2 separate regions of the Homo sapiens genome follow, and region 1 is linked to region 2. Evidence: promoter capture Hi-C in 16 types of primary human blood cells and fetal thymus (Javierre and others, 2016). All regions are on one chromosome and are shown on one strand. Each heading gives the region's core, a stretch centred on a gene start or on the middle of the fragment in contact. The rest is flanking DNA. Distances are from core to core; before and after follow the strand shown.

Evidence for each region. Contacts are between HindIII fragments. The CHiCAGO score rates a contact against its expected background, and 5 or more counts as called.
Region 1: a fragment that was not itself captured here is called in contact with the fragment with the promoter of KRT9 in region 2 in 2 of 17 cell types (erythroblasts and M1 macrophages); the score reaches 6.7 in erythroblasts.

What each region holds. Positions count from the first base shown.
Region 1 is chr17:40,694,518-40,700,018 of GRCh38, forward strand. It overlaps LOC105371775 (a long non-coding RNA gene), which reads left to right. Exons shown (of 4, transcript XR_934751.2): 4 at 2,939-3,323. It overlaps KRT24 (keratin 24), which reads right to left. Exons shown (of 8, transcript NM_019016.3): 5 at 5,481-5,501; 6 at 4,927-5,144; 7 at 4,021-4,133; 8 at 3,474-3,823. The coding sequence ends at 3,720. Among named protein-coding and RNA genes, the nearest start is that of KRT24, 6.5 kb to the right of the region's middle. The HindIII fragment of the contact is 3,749 bases long and covers 1-3,608 here.
Region 2 is chr17:41,568,774-41,574,061 of GRCh38, forward strand. KRT9 (keratin 9) reads right to left here and starts at 3,286. Exons shown (of 8, transcript NM_000226.4): 1 at 2,578-3,286; 2 at 1,365-1,447; 3 at 1,086-1,242; 4 at 653-814. The coding sequence starts at 3,219. The HindIII fragment of the contact is 20,188 bases long and covers 1-5,288 here.

The DNA of each region.
Region 1 (5,501 bases), core at 484-2,983, 880 kb before region 2:
TTTGTTTTCAGAAGGGCTTGATCAATATTTTCTGTTACCCAAGTGTCATATCTCAGCCACTGAAAAGTTTTTAAAGTGGTTTATTACTTGTAGTATTTTGTTCCTTGAGGAGGTTGTGTGGATAATATTACTTGAGCTTCATTTTGGGTGATTTATATTCACCAGTTTGTCTCCTCCTGGGTGAACACTGTCTAATTCCACGAAGTCGTCAAGCCAGTTTAGGCCACTTTCCTTAGAGCTTCAAATACTTTAGCCGTTTACTCTGAGCTGCCTGCTGTGAACCTTGTTTCTTGTTTGTCATCTCTGTGAGGATGGATGCCACGTCGACCATTCTCATCATTCTTGTGTATACTTCCCTGAGGTGAGAAAGAAAAAACAACCCTGTGAATCTCTGGATTAAAAGTCAACGGGTGAAAACCCATGTGCGAGGCTGGGTGCGGTGGCTCACGCCTGTAATCCCAGCACTTTGGGAGGCCGAGGTGGGCGGATCCCAAGGTCAGGAGTTCGAGACCAGCCTGGCCAACATGGTGAAACCCCGTCTCTACTAAAAATACAAAAATTAGCTGGGCTTGGTGGCGCGTGCCTGTAATCCCAGCTACTCAGGAGGCTGAGGCAGGAGAATCGCTTGAACCTGGGAGGTGGAGGCGAGATCGCGCCGCTGCACTCCAGCCTGGGCGACAAGCGAGAGACTCTGTCTCAAAAAAAACAAACAAACAAAAAAGAAAGCCCATGTGCATGTGGGCATGAGCTCTCCCTTCTTACAGTAAATCCACTCTTAGAAAAAAGAAATGTGTTCCTCTCATTCAAAAGTTGAGGCTGAATGCAGTCGTTCATGCCTATAACCCCAGCCCTTTGGAAGGCCGAGGTGGGAGGATTGCTTGAGCCCAGGAGTTTGAGACCAGCCTGGGCAACATAGTGAAACTCCATCTCTACAAAAAATAAACAAAATTAGCTGGGCATGGTTGCCTGCAGCTACTCAGGAGGCTGAGGTGGGAGGATTGCTTGAGCCCAGGAAGTTGAGGCTGCAGGTGAATCGAGATGGCACCACTACACTCCAGCCTGGGCAACAGAGCGAGACCCTGTAACAAAACAAAGCAAAAAAATTGCCTGGAGAGCTGAACTTTAGGGTCTCACAATAAACATATTCCTATTGTAGAGTTTTAAAATAATTTTAAGGCAAGTAATAATGTATGAACACCATGTCCTTAACTTTTTATTCAGCACTGTAAATACGTTTTATGATCCAAAATGGTTGAATAGTTTCAGTTTTCAAAATTGAACATGCCCTTAACAACACATTCTATTGTGTCTCAGTGTTCTGGTGTCTATGATTGGGCCTTTTCTATATTTGTAAACAATCATTCAGTACAAACGCAGCATCTTAACGCATGACAAGGAAGAACAGATGAGGGTTTTCACCTCGAGATGACTTTCAGAGTAGCCTTATACTTTTGCCTTGACATGAAAATAGTACTAGCCATGAACATAGGTCTCAGGTGGCCAAAATCCACAGCTAGAAGGTTAGACTTGAGAAGACCCACAGAGAGAGGCTTCGCTGATGTGGCCGGGATGGCTTAGGTTCTGCAGGCTGCTTACGGCAGATTTCCATTTCTGCTCTTGAGCTATGAATCCAGTTGGATGAGCTGGTTCAGACTTTTAGTATTTCAGCAGAGAAGAAGCATTCAGGGTTTTATTTATTGTAATGATTTGATGGTGGAAAACAGCTTTGACTTAAGCAACTTAACATTGCTCTTTTTCTTTGAGTAGTGGTTTAATGTTTATTCTGTGGTTAGCTATTAACCTTATTCTGTGGTTAGCTATTTAAGCAGAAGTCATAATGTACCCAGAGGTTCATTTTAAGTTTTATTCAATGTGCCCAGAAGATGAAAAACTACATGTTTTGATGATAGGTTTGATATGCTCACACAATTCTTAATTGGTTTTATATTGGAAGATACATGTTCAGATTTGTCCTTTTATAACTTTACATTTGGCTTTTTATGCCACGTCCCGTGTTCTTTCCTTGAGGACTGGCTTGTAGAGTTGATTCTCTAATTTGTGATATGGGCATATTAAATTCCTTGATTGAGAAAGCCCTTAGCCAGCCTGGGTTGGTGCTATGCCTGGTTCTTCCTGGGGCCCGTACCACCTCCTACCCAATCTTAACAGGTTTCATCATCCCAAACAAGACAAGACAAAGCCATGTGGCCTCAGGGATACTGTAGAAATGAAAGAATAGGGCTATGACCACCAACGGGATGAAAGATCTTAGCAGTGGAGACTGGGGAAAAGAAACACCAGCTTGGCGAAGTGGCAGGTTTTGGCTAAAGATGTGGCTAGATTTGGCAGGGGAACAAGTGCCTGAGGATCTCTTCTCTTTGGGGCTTTCAAGGTTTCAGGAAATCAGATTGCCATATCACATAGCCAATCTTATTTCCCAAGACTCTTTTTTGGCCCCTGTCCTAAATGTCCTGTAAACACACATGTCTGATTCCTATGTCACTTCTGATGCAGATTGTGAAATCAAGTCTTTACTATTAACAGCTTTTTATTGCTTGCTGTCTTCTTTGTGTTTTAGCTCTTCTTCTCTGCTGAAATGTGAGCTTTTTGAAGTAGGAGGGAGATTTTGAGTTTCTTTTTTATCTTATAAAATATCGAGTTCAGTGATGGACATATATAAACTAGACATTAATTATAAGTTGATTATTAAAATAATCACATCCTTCTTTGTGGGCTAAGCCGTTGACACGGTAGTCTAATTTCAGCTATCATGCCACTGAGTTCTTATGTGATGCCATTAAAAATGCCCACATTAAAAAAATGACTATAATCTGAATTGTATAAAGAAGGTAATGTGATACCCTACCTCGTTTTAACCTGATTGTCTCTCTTAGCTGAGAGAGCCGGACAGACTCCATTTTTGTTTCTTCACTTGCAGCTCCCCTCCCTTAAAGGCATAAGTAGTGCAAGCTGACTCCGAGCACATCCAGGAATGCGCTTACTGATGAGATATCGAGGCAAGCTAAATCAGCAGTTCCTGAGGACGCGCTTGGGGGATGGCACCCAAAGCCCCTGCATTATCTCTTTGTGATAGTTTGAGCCCCTGCACCTGGAACTGTTTACTTTTCTGTAACTGTTTCTGTAACCAATTAATCTTTCTTAATTGGTTTGCCTGTTCTGCTTCTGTAAAAATTGCTTCAGCTAAACTCCCTCTCCCCTATTTAGACCACGATATAAAAAGAAATCTAGCCCCTTCTTCGGGGCCGAGAGAATTTTGAGCTCTAGCCGTCTTGTTCGCCGGCAATAAAAGGACTCCTGAATTAGTCTCAGAGTGTGTCATTTCTCTATAACTCGCTCAGTTACAACAGTAAGATATAAAGAATGAACTGACATTAGTAATATAGTCATGCAGCTAGATCATACTTGATAGCTTCCTTCCTAGGTAAAATACTTTTTAAAAAAATAAGTAATAATTAACTTGCAAAAGTAAATTTATTGAAGCATAGAAACAATTAAAGCAAAGTTGTTAATTCAGCTATTTCAAGAGCATTCTAATGAGGAAATAAGAAGATGCAGAAAAGTTGGCTAGTCATCCATTTCTGGACTGAAGCTTTTCCTGAAATTATCCAGAAAGATGCCTAGATTGATGCCATTTCTTCGCTTGTGTCCTTCTTGATTTTTTTTTCTTTGAAAGACACTTTTGTTGATCTGGAAGTTCCTTATTTAACTTTCACCTCAGAAATACTGCTGACTTGAGACGAGACAACCTTGCCATCCACCAACTCCTCTACGATAGTCTTAGTCACTCTAGTCTTGCTTGAATCTGAAAATCATGGGATTGCAATGTCAGTCTGGAAACTCTCACAGAAACACAGAGCAAGAGAAATTCAATCACATGCATTCAACGTGTTCTGTCTGGGTAAGATTATGTAAAAAATAGCGGACTCTTTTAGTATGACAAGCAAAGTATGTCTTCACTTTTAAATTACAGAACTATTATCAATATTAAAAAAAGTCTACCTCGTCCTTGACCAGAACAGCTTCCAGATCTTGAGTCACCAGATACCAGATCCCTGGATCCCATGTTTACAGATCCTGAGTTTCTACCACCAAATTCTGCAAAACTAGAACCACTGGAGAAAAAAAGAATTATGTTTTCCTTTGCAGTTTGCAAAGGCAGGAGAAAGCCTCCGCCCCGGGGATTCTTCATGATGAAGTTTTGGATGTGTTTATGTGTTTTAATTGGATTGTGTCTGCTGCTTTTTTGTTCAACCTTGCACTCCTGGGCTCAAGTGATCCTCCTGTCTCAGCCTCCCCAGTATCTGGGATTATAGGTGTGCACCACCATGCCCAGCTAATTTTTTTTTTTTTTTTTTTGAGACAAGGTCTCGTTCTATCACCCAGGCTGGAGTATAGTGGCATGATTACAGCTCACTGCAGCCTCAGCCTCCTGAGCTCAAGTGATCTTCCCGCCTCAGTCCCCTGAGTAGCTGGGACTACAGGTGTGTGCCACCACGCCTGGCTAATTTTTGTATTTTTAGTAGAGACAGGATTTCACCATGTTGGCCAGGCTGGTCTCGAACTCCTGACCTCACGTGATCTGCCTGCCTTGGCCTCCCAAAGTGCCGGGATTACAGGCATGAGCCACTGTGCCCAGCCTCCAGCTAATTTTTTAAAAATTATTTTTTGAAGAGGAAGGGGTTTTGCTATGTTGCTCAAGCTGGTCTTGAACTCCTGGGCTCACGTGATTCTCCCACCTCAGCCTCCCAAAGTGCTGGGATTACAGGCCTGAGCCACTGCACGCAGCCTGTGTCTGTTACTTTATTACTCTCTATATATACAAGTCTAAGCCCTGAGTCCCATTTTGGTTTTATAAAATAAATTCACTAAGGTATGCATTTTAGTTTGTTCATGACTTTGGTTTACCCTCCCTCTCCATCGAGCAGGCGGCGGTAGGTCTCGATCTCCACCTCCAGGCGTGTCTTGATGTCCAGCAATTGCTTGTACTCTGCGTTCTGGCATTTAGTCTCACCCCAGATCTGGCAGATCTCCTCCTCCAGGGCACTGATCTGCGTTTGAATTTCTGACAGCTGAGCCACGTAGCCAGCTTCTGTGTCAGCCAGGGTTCCCTCCAGGGAGCTTTTCTAAGAGAAAAAGCAAATAAAAAATTCATGATGAAAATAAATCATTGGATGATTTTTTAAAAATGCAATTTTATGTGGCACTAGAAGTGCACCTTCGCCATATAACCTATATTGTTATATCATTGCTTCTTTAATTTTGGTTGGCACTTCTTTTTAAACTAAATCTTTTATGCAAAATAGAGTACATTATCTTTAACTTTTAATGCTTTCTATAATCATAATGCAGTTCTCCTTAACACTGCCTTTTTTATGTGCCTAGTGAACCTCTTGGCAAAGAAAGAAAACTGCATTTGCTTAACTCCCTGTTGGAAAATGTGAAAAGCTATTTGCACATACCATGGCCAGTTGGGACTGAAG
Region 2 (5,288 bases), core at 2,036-4,535:
CCCTCCAGCCATGGAGGGTTGTCCAGTCCTCTCAACATGACATTCCCTCTCAACAAAGTTGCAAGACCCTTCACGCTTTGTCTCACAACCATCTTTCTAATCTAACCTTATTCCAAACTTCCCCCACCTTTCAAACATACACACACACACACACACACACACACACACACACACACACACACAGCACAGACCATGCCTTCATGTATGTGCCAGACTCTGGCTGGGCACTGGAGACTCAAGGACGAAGGGAACCACCAAGGAGCTCAGTACAGTATGGGAGACACACTGTATCCCTCTGCTATAGTCTTACATTACATAGCATTAGATTAAATTGTTCACATTCTGCTTTTGTTCACACACATCTAATAAACTGTGAGCTTCTCAAGGGCAGCAGTCTTGTTTGGCTCATATCAGACATCAATACCTCTGAGACATCAATACTTTACATATAACATGGCACTGAGAAGCTACTTTGTAATGATGTTTGTATGCAGTGAATGAAGATGGATGAATGACTTCCATTGGAAGATGGATAAATGACAGCTGCACTGAGAGATGCAGAGATAGGAGGATGAAGGAATGGGAGGTGGGAGGGATGGAGATAGGAATAGATGGAGGGGAGGAGGATGAATGGGCAGCCCACTCTGCTCACCTGAGTCTCATATTGATTCTCGATGTCCTTTCTGTTCTTAGCAATGAGCTGCTCATACTCCTGACGCATGTCATTGAGGGTCTTGGTGAGATCTTTGCCAGGAGCAACGTTTATCTCCACATTGACATCTCCACTGTTCTGCCCAGTCAGCTGACTCATCTCCTGCCAGGGAAGAAGGGGAGATGAGGTCACGGATAAAGTCCTCTGCACCACCTTTCAGAATTCTCCCTCTGGTCCCCCCAGGGTACAAAAAGGGGACACAGTTGTGAAGCCAAAGCCCAACCACTACCATAGGTGATGCCAAGGAGAAGTTGAAAGTGTCCTCAAGAGCAAAGGAGAGGGTGTCTCCCAGGTAATGTTCCAAAGCTCCCCTGCTGTCTCTGCATTTCTGCTCCTCCCTCTTCCCGGTAAGCCATAAGCCCCAGCAACCTACCTCCTTATGATTCTTCTTGAGGGCCATCAGCTCCTCCTGCAGAGTCTCATACTGCATCTCCAGGTCAGACTTCTCCATGGTCAGATTGTCCAGCACCTGCCGCAGGCCATTGATGTCAGCATCCACTCCTTGCCGCAGGTTTTGCTCCATCTCAAACCTGCAGACCAGCCAGGGTTAGAAAACAATCAAGAGGGAACCAGGCCCTACCAGGACCTCCAGAGCACTGAGGTTCAGGGGTAAGGGCTGATGACAGGAGAGGAGAAGAGGAGCAGGACTCACTTTATCCTGAAGTCATCCAGTGTCATGCGAGTGTTGTCAATGTCCAGGAGAGTTTTGTTGTTGCCCACTGTCAGGTCCACAATCTGAAAAAAAAAGGACACAGCCATGATATCATGCTGTGGACCACTGCTGAGAGGGCAAGAGGCCAGGCAAAGCCACAGGAGGTGAGGATTCCATCCAGGAAGATTCTCAAGAGGAATGAGGAACTTCCAACAGCTGGGACATGGCACAGACCCCTTCCAGCCTTCAGCGAAGATGTTTGGTGTGGCCTTCATTCATTCATTCAACAAATATTTGAAGATCTACTGCAAAGGGCATTGTAGGATTTAGAGATTACTGACATCCTGTTCCTCAGGGAGCCCACCATTGACTACAAAGTCAAAAGTGTCCTAAAAGAGTTCAAGGAAAGGAGAGGTGGCTTATGGCAATGGGAGATCAAGAAAGACTTCAGGAAGGAGGTGGCTGGCAATTGAATTGGGCCCTGAAGGATGGCTAAGATGTAACATTAATAAATAAATGGAAGAGGTTTAGAGTAGAAGAAACAGCACATTCAGAGACATGCAGGAGTTAAAACAAGAGGAATCACTGAGAATACTGAAGAGCCAGACCGTGAGCTCCACCAGAACTAGGTCTAGCACATCACTATGTCTACCCAGAGCAACCCTGAGGGTAGGCACTCACTGAACTGAGTGGCTGAATAAATGGATAGATAGATAGACATGTGGGTGGAGGGAGGAAGGGATAGATGGAAGGATGGATGGATAGATAGCTTCCATTCCCAGATTTCTGGATCCTCTCCAACACTTGAATAACCAACATGTACAGTCAGGTCCAAAATACCTTAAAAGATCAAGATACACTCCTAAAGAAGCCCAGGAGAAGTACAAAGGAAGAGAAAGTATTGACTTAGACCAAACCTAAAGGAGGTTCCACATCCAGTCCCAGCTCAGCTCACGTTAACCCAGGTCTCCTCTCTGCTCTGCCCAAACTCTGAAAGTTGAGGAAATGGAAGTGAACACTCAGAGCACAGGCCAAAGTCCTATCCTGGGATCCCCAGAAACCAAACACAAGTTTGTTTCTGATGAAAGCGTACATTTCCAAAAGGTGGATTCCCTGGCTATTATCTGAGCTTAGAGTTTAGCATTTTAACTTTTTTGGAAGATAAAGAATGAAAGAGAAAGAGACCAAGACAGAGACAGTTTCCTGCACCTACCTGGTCCTTGAGATCATCAATAGTGTTATAATAAGGGGAGTAGTTCTTCTGGATAGCAGCAGGTCCCTTCTTGTCGTACCAATCCTGGATCTTATTCTCCAGGTCGTTGTTGGCCTCCTCTAGAGCCTGCACCTTATCCAAGTAAGAGGCCAGCCGAGAATTGAGTTCCTGCATGGTGCTCTTCTCATTAGCAGTCAGAATACCACCATCACCTCCTCCAGCACCACCTCCAAAGCCCCCAAACCCCCCAAACCCACTCCCATAGCCACCACCAAAGCCACCTCCAGAACCACCACCAAAGCCACCTCCAAAACCCCCAGAACTACTATAGCCTCCTCCAGAAGCACCACCAAAACCTCTGGAACCACCCCCAAAGCCACCGCCTAAACTACTGGCACTAAAACCACCCCCAGATCCTCCGCCGTAGCTGTAGCCAAAACTGCCACCGCCTCCCCTCCCACAGACACGAGAGCTTCCCCCACCATAGCCACTAGAAGAGCTGAATCGGCCCCCTCCTCCACCGCCCCCTGAGGAGCTGAAGCGGCTGTAGGAAGACCTTATGCTGCCCCCGCTGCCCAGGCCGCCCCCGCCACCCCCGCCGCTGCGGCTCAAGTAGGACGAGGAGAACTGTCTGCAGCTCATGACACAGCTGGTAGCTCACGGGTTGAGAAGCAGTGATAGGAGTGCTACCGGCTCCCAAGTGCAGGGTACAGAGCTGTCCCTGGGGCTGCCTACTTATACCCCCAGCTGAAGGTGGCACGCCTGGGTGTGCCCTTGTTCTGTGCCAGCCTCCCCCCACAGACCCGAGGGAGGTCTGGGATACGGAGGCAGCCGGGCTGCCCCAGGCTCAGCGTCCTTTGGTGACTGCCTGGGGGCGGCCCAGCCTCTCTCCATTGTGTGGGATAATTTGATGACATTAGGCTGTCAGGGCCACCATAAATCAGCTGTACTGCCACAGGGGTGACCTAGATCCTGGAGTCTGGTCTCTGGCTGGCCCCAACAGCAGGTCTGAGACTTAGCCCCTTCGGGATAGAAACTCCCAAGAGCAGAGTCACCTCCTCTATTGATGGTCATTACTGTCTGCATCCCTCATGCCTCCTTGCTCCCACCTTGTGCCCACTGTGAGCTGAGCTGGAACTAGGGTACTAAGGAGTTATCATAGAGGAGGGGGAGGCACAGCCCCTGCCCTTGTGGAGCCCCAAATGGATGAAAACCAATCCTTGCTCTCAGGATCCTCGAGGCTTTCTGCAGAGTCTGAGGCTCTGCCCTTGGGAGACTCCAGTTTGATGAGGAGGCAACTGGCATGGCCAAAAGATGGAGACGGGCACCGAGACCATGCCCGCCAGCACTAAAGGACAGCGTGCAGAGTTCACACAAAGGGCTGGAAGAAGAAAGTGGACCAAATAAACAAGGTGGTGCTGACACTAGCTGACCTCTGAGCAGGAATGCAAGTGGCTCGACTGTCCTGGTCCTTTTGCAGGGCCCAGCAGGGAGTGTGGAATTGACCTTGGTTGAGTGCCTACCCCATACAGAACTCTGGAGGGGATACAGAGATGTGTGACTTATCCCTGCTCCTGGCAGAAACTTGGATGTATATTCTGGTCACCAAGGCCAGAAGAGAATGGTAAAGAACACGCTGGTCTCCGGTGTGCCTACCTGAGCTCCATCCAGCTCCATGCTCATGAGCTGTGTGACTTTGATAAGTTACTTAAATACTCTGTGCCTCAGTTTCCTCCTTTGAAAAAGGTTGATATGAGTAGTTTGTCCATCTCCTAGTAAGAGACTTGTGAGAAGTGCTCAAAAAATGTTCGGCTGCCTCTGATCATTCAGCCCCCTAACTCCCCGTCAACTCTGCCCTCACCCAGACCTTAGCCATGAGCTTCTAACTGCCCTCCCTGCCTCTCCCATTCCCTCTGACTCTTCCTGCACAGCAGCCAGAATGACCTTTCTAATCCATGTCTGACAACATCACTTCACCAGTTTCCCTCCACCCTCAAGATAAGGTCCACATTCCTGGCACTTAGGCCCATCCCCATCTTTCCATTCCTGCCCCATCTCCCACCATCCCCCAGGCCCCCTAGAAAATCATACAATGCTTCCCAAATGCCCTTCTTCCCTCTAAGAATACTCGGCACTTGCAGTGACCTCTGATTGAAATGTCCCACTCCATCTTTTCTACACAGAAAACTACCCATCTTCAGTGATCCCTCTGACTGCCTCCTCCTCTGTCTTCCTGTACTCTCGCCCCCTGGGTTTGTACTGTGCTCTGTTATAGTGTCTCACACTTATCTCCATGGCTCTATGAAGCACTTGATGAAGAATAAAAGTTCATGTACTGAAAAAATAGAAGAAACCTCTCTCTGCGGGCAGCCAGAGCTCCTCTAAGCCTGCCCCTGCTCATCTCGTACTTGCCCCAGTGCCCAGCGCCACGTCTGATCCAAGTAGGATCCCAACACATATGAGATGGAGGAAAGATACCAGTCATTCCAGAAAGATGCTCATTGCTGAAAAGGAGCTAAAGGTAAGGAAATCTCTTTGCCAGGATGGTCAGCAAGGGCCTGAAAGAGGCAATGCCTGCATGTGTAGGCGGCATAGATGACTGGTATTTCTTGAGGGGCTTTTAAGTGATGCTCAACGACTGTTAAATAATACTGAAGTGGCCGGACACGGTGACCCATGCCCGTAATCCCAGCACTTTGGGAAGCCGAGGT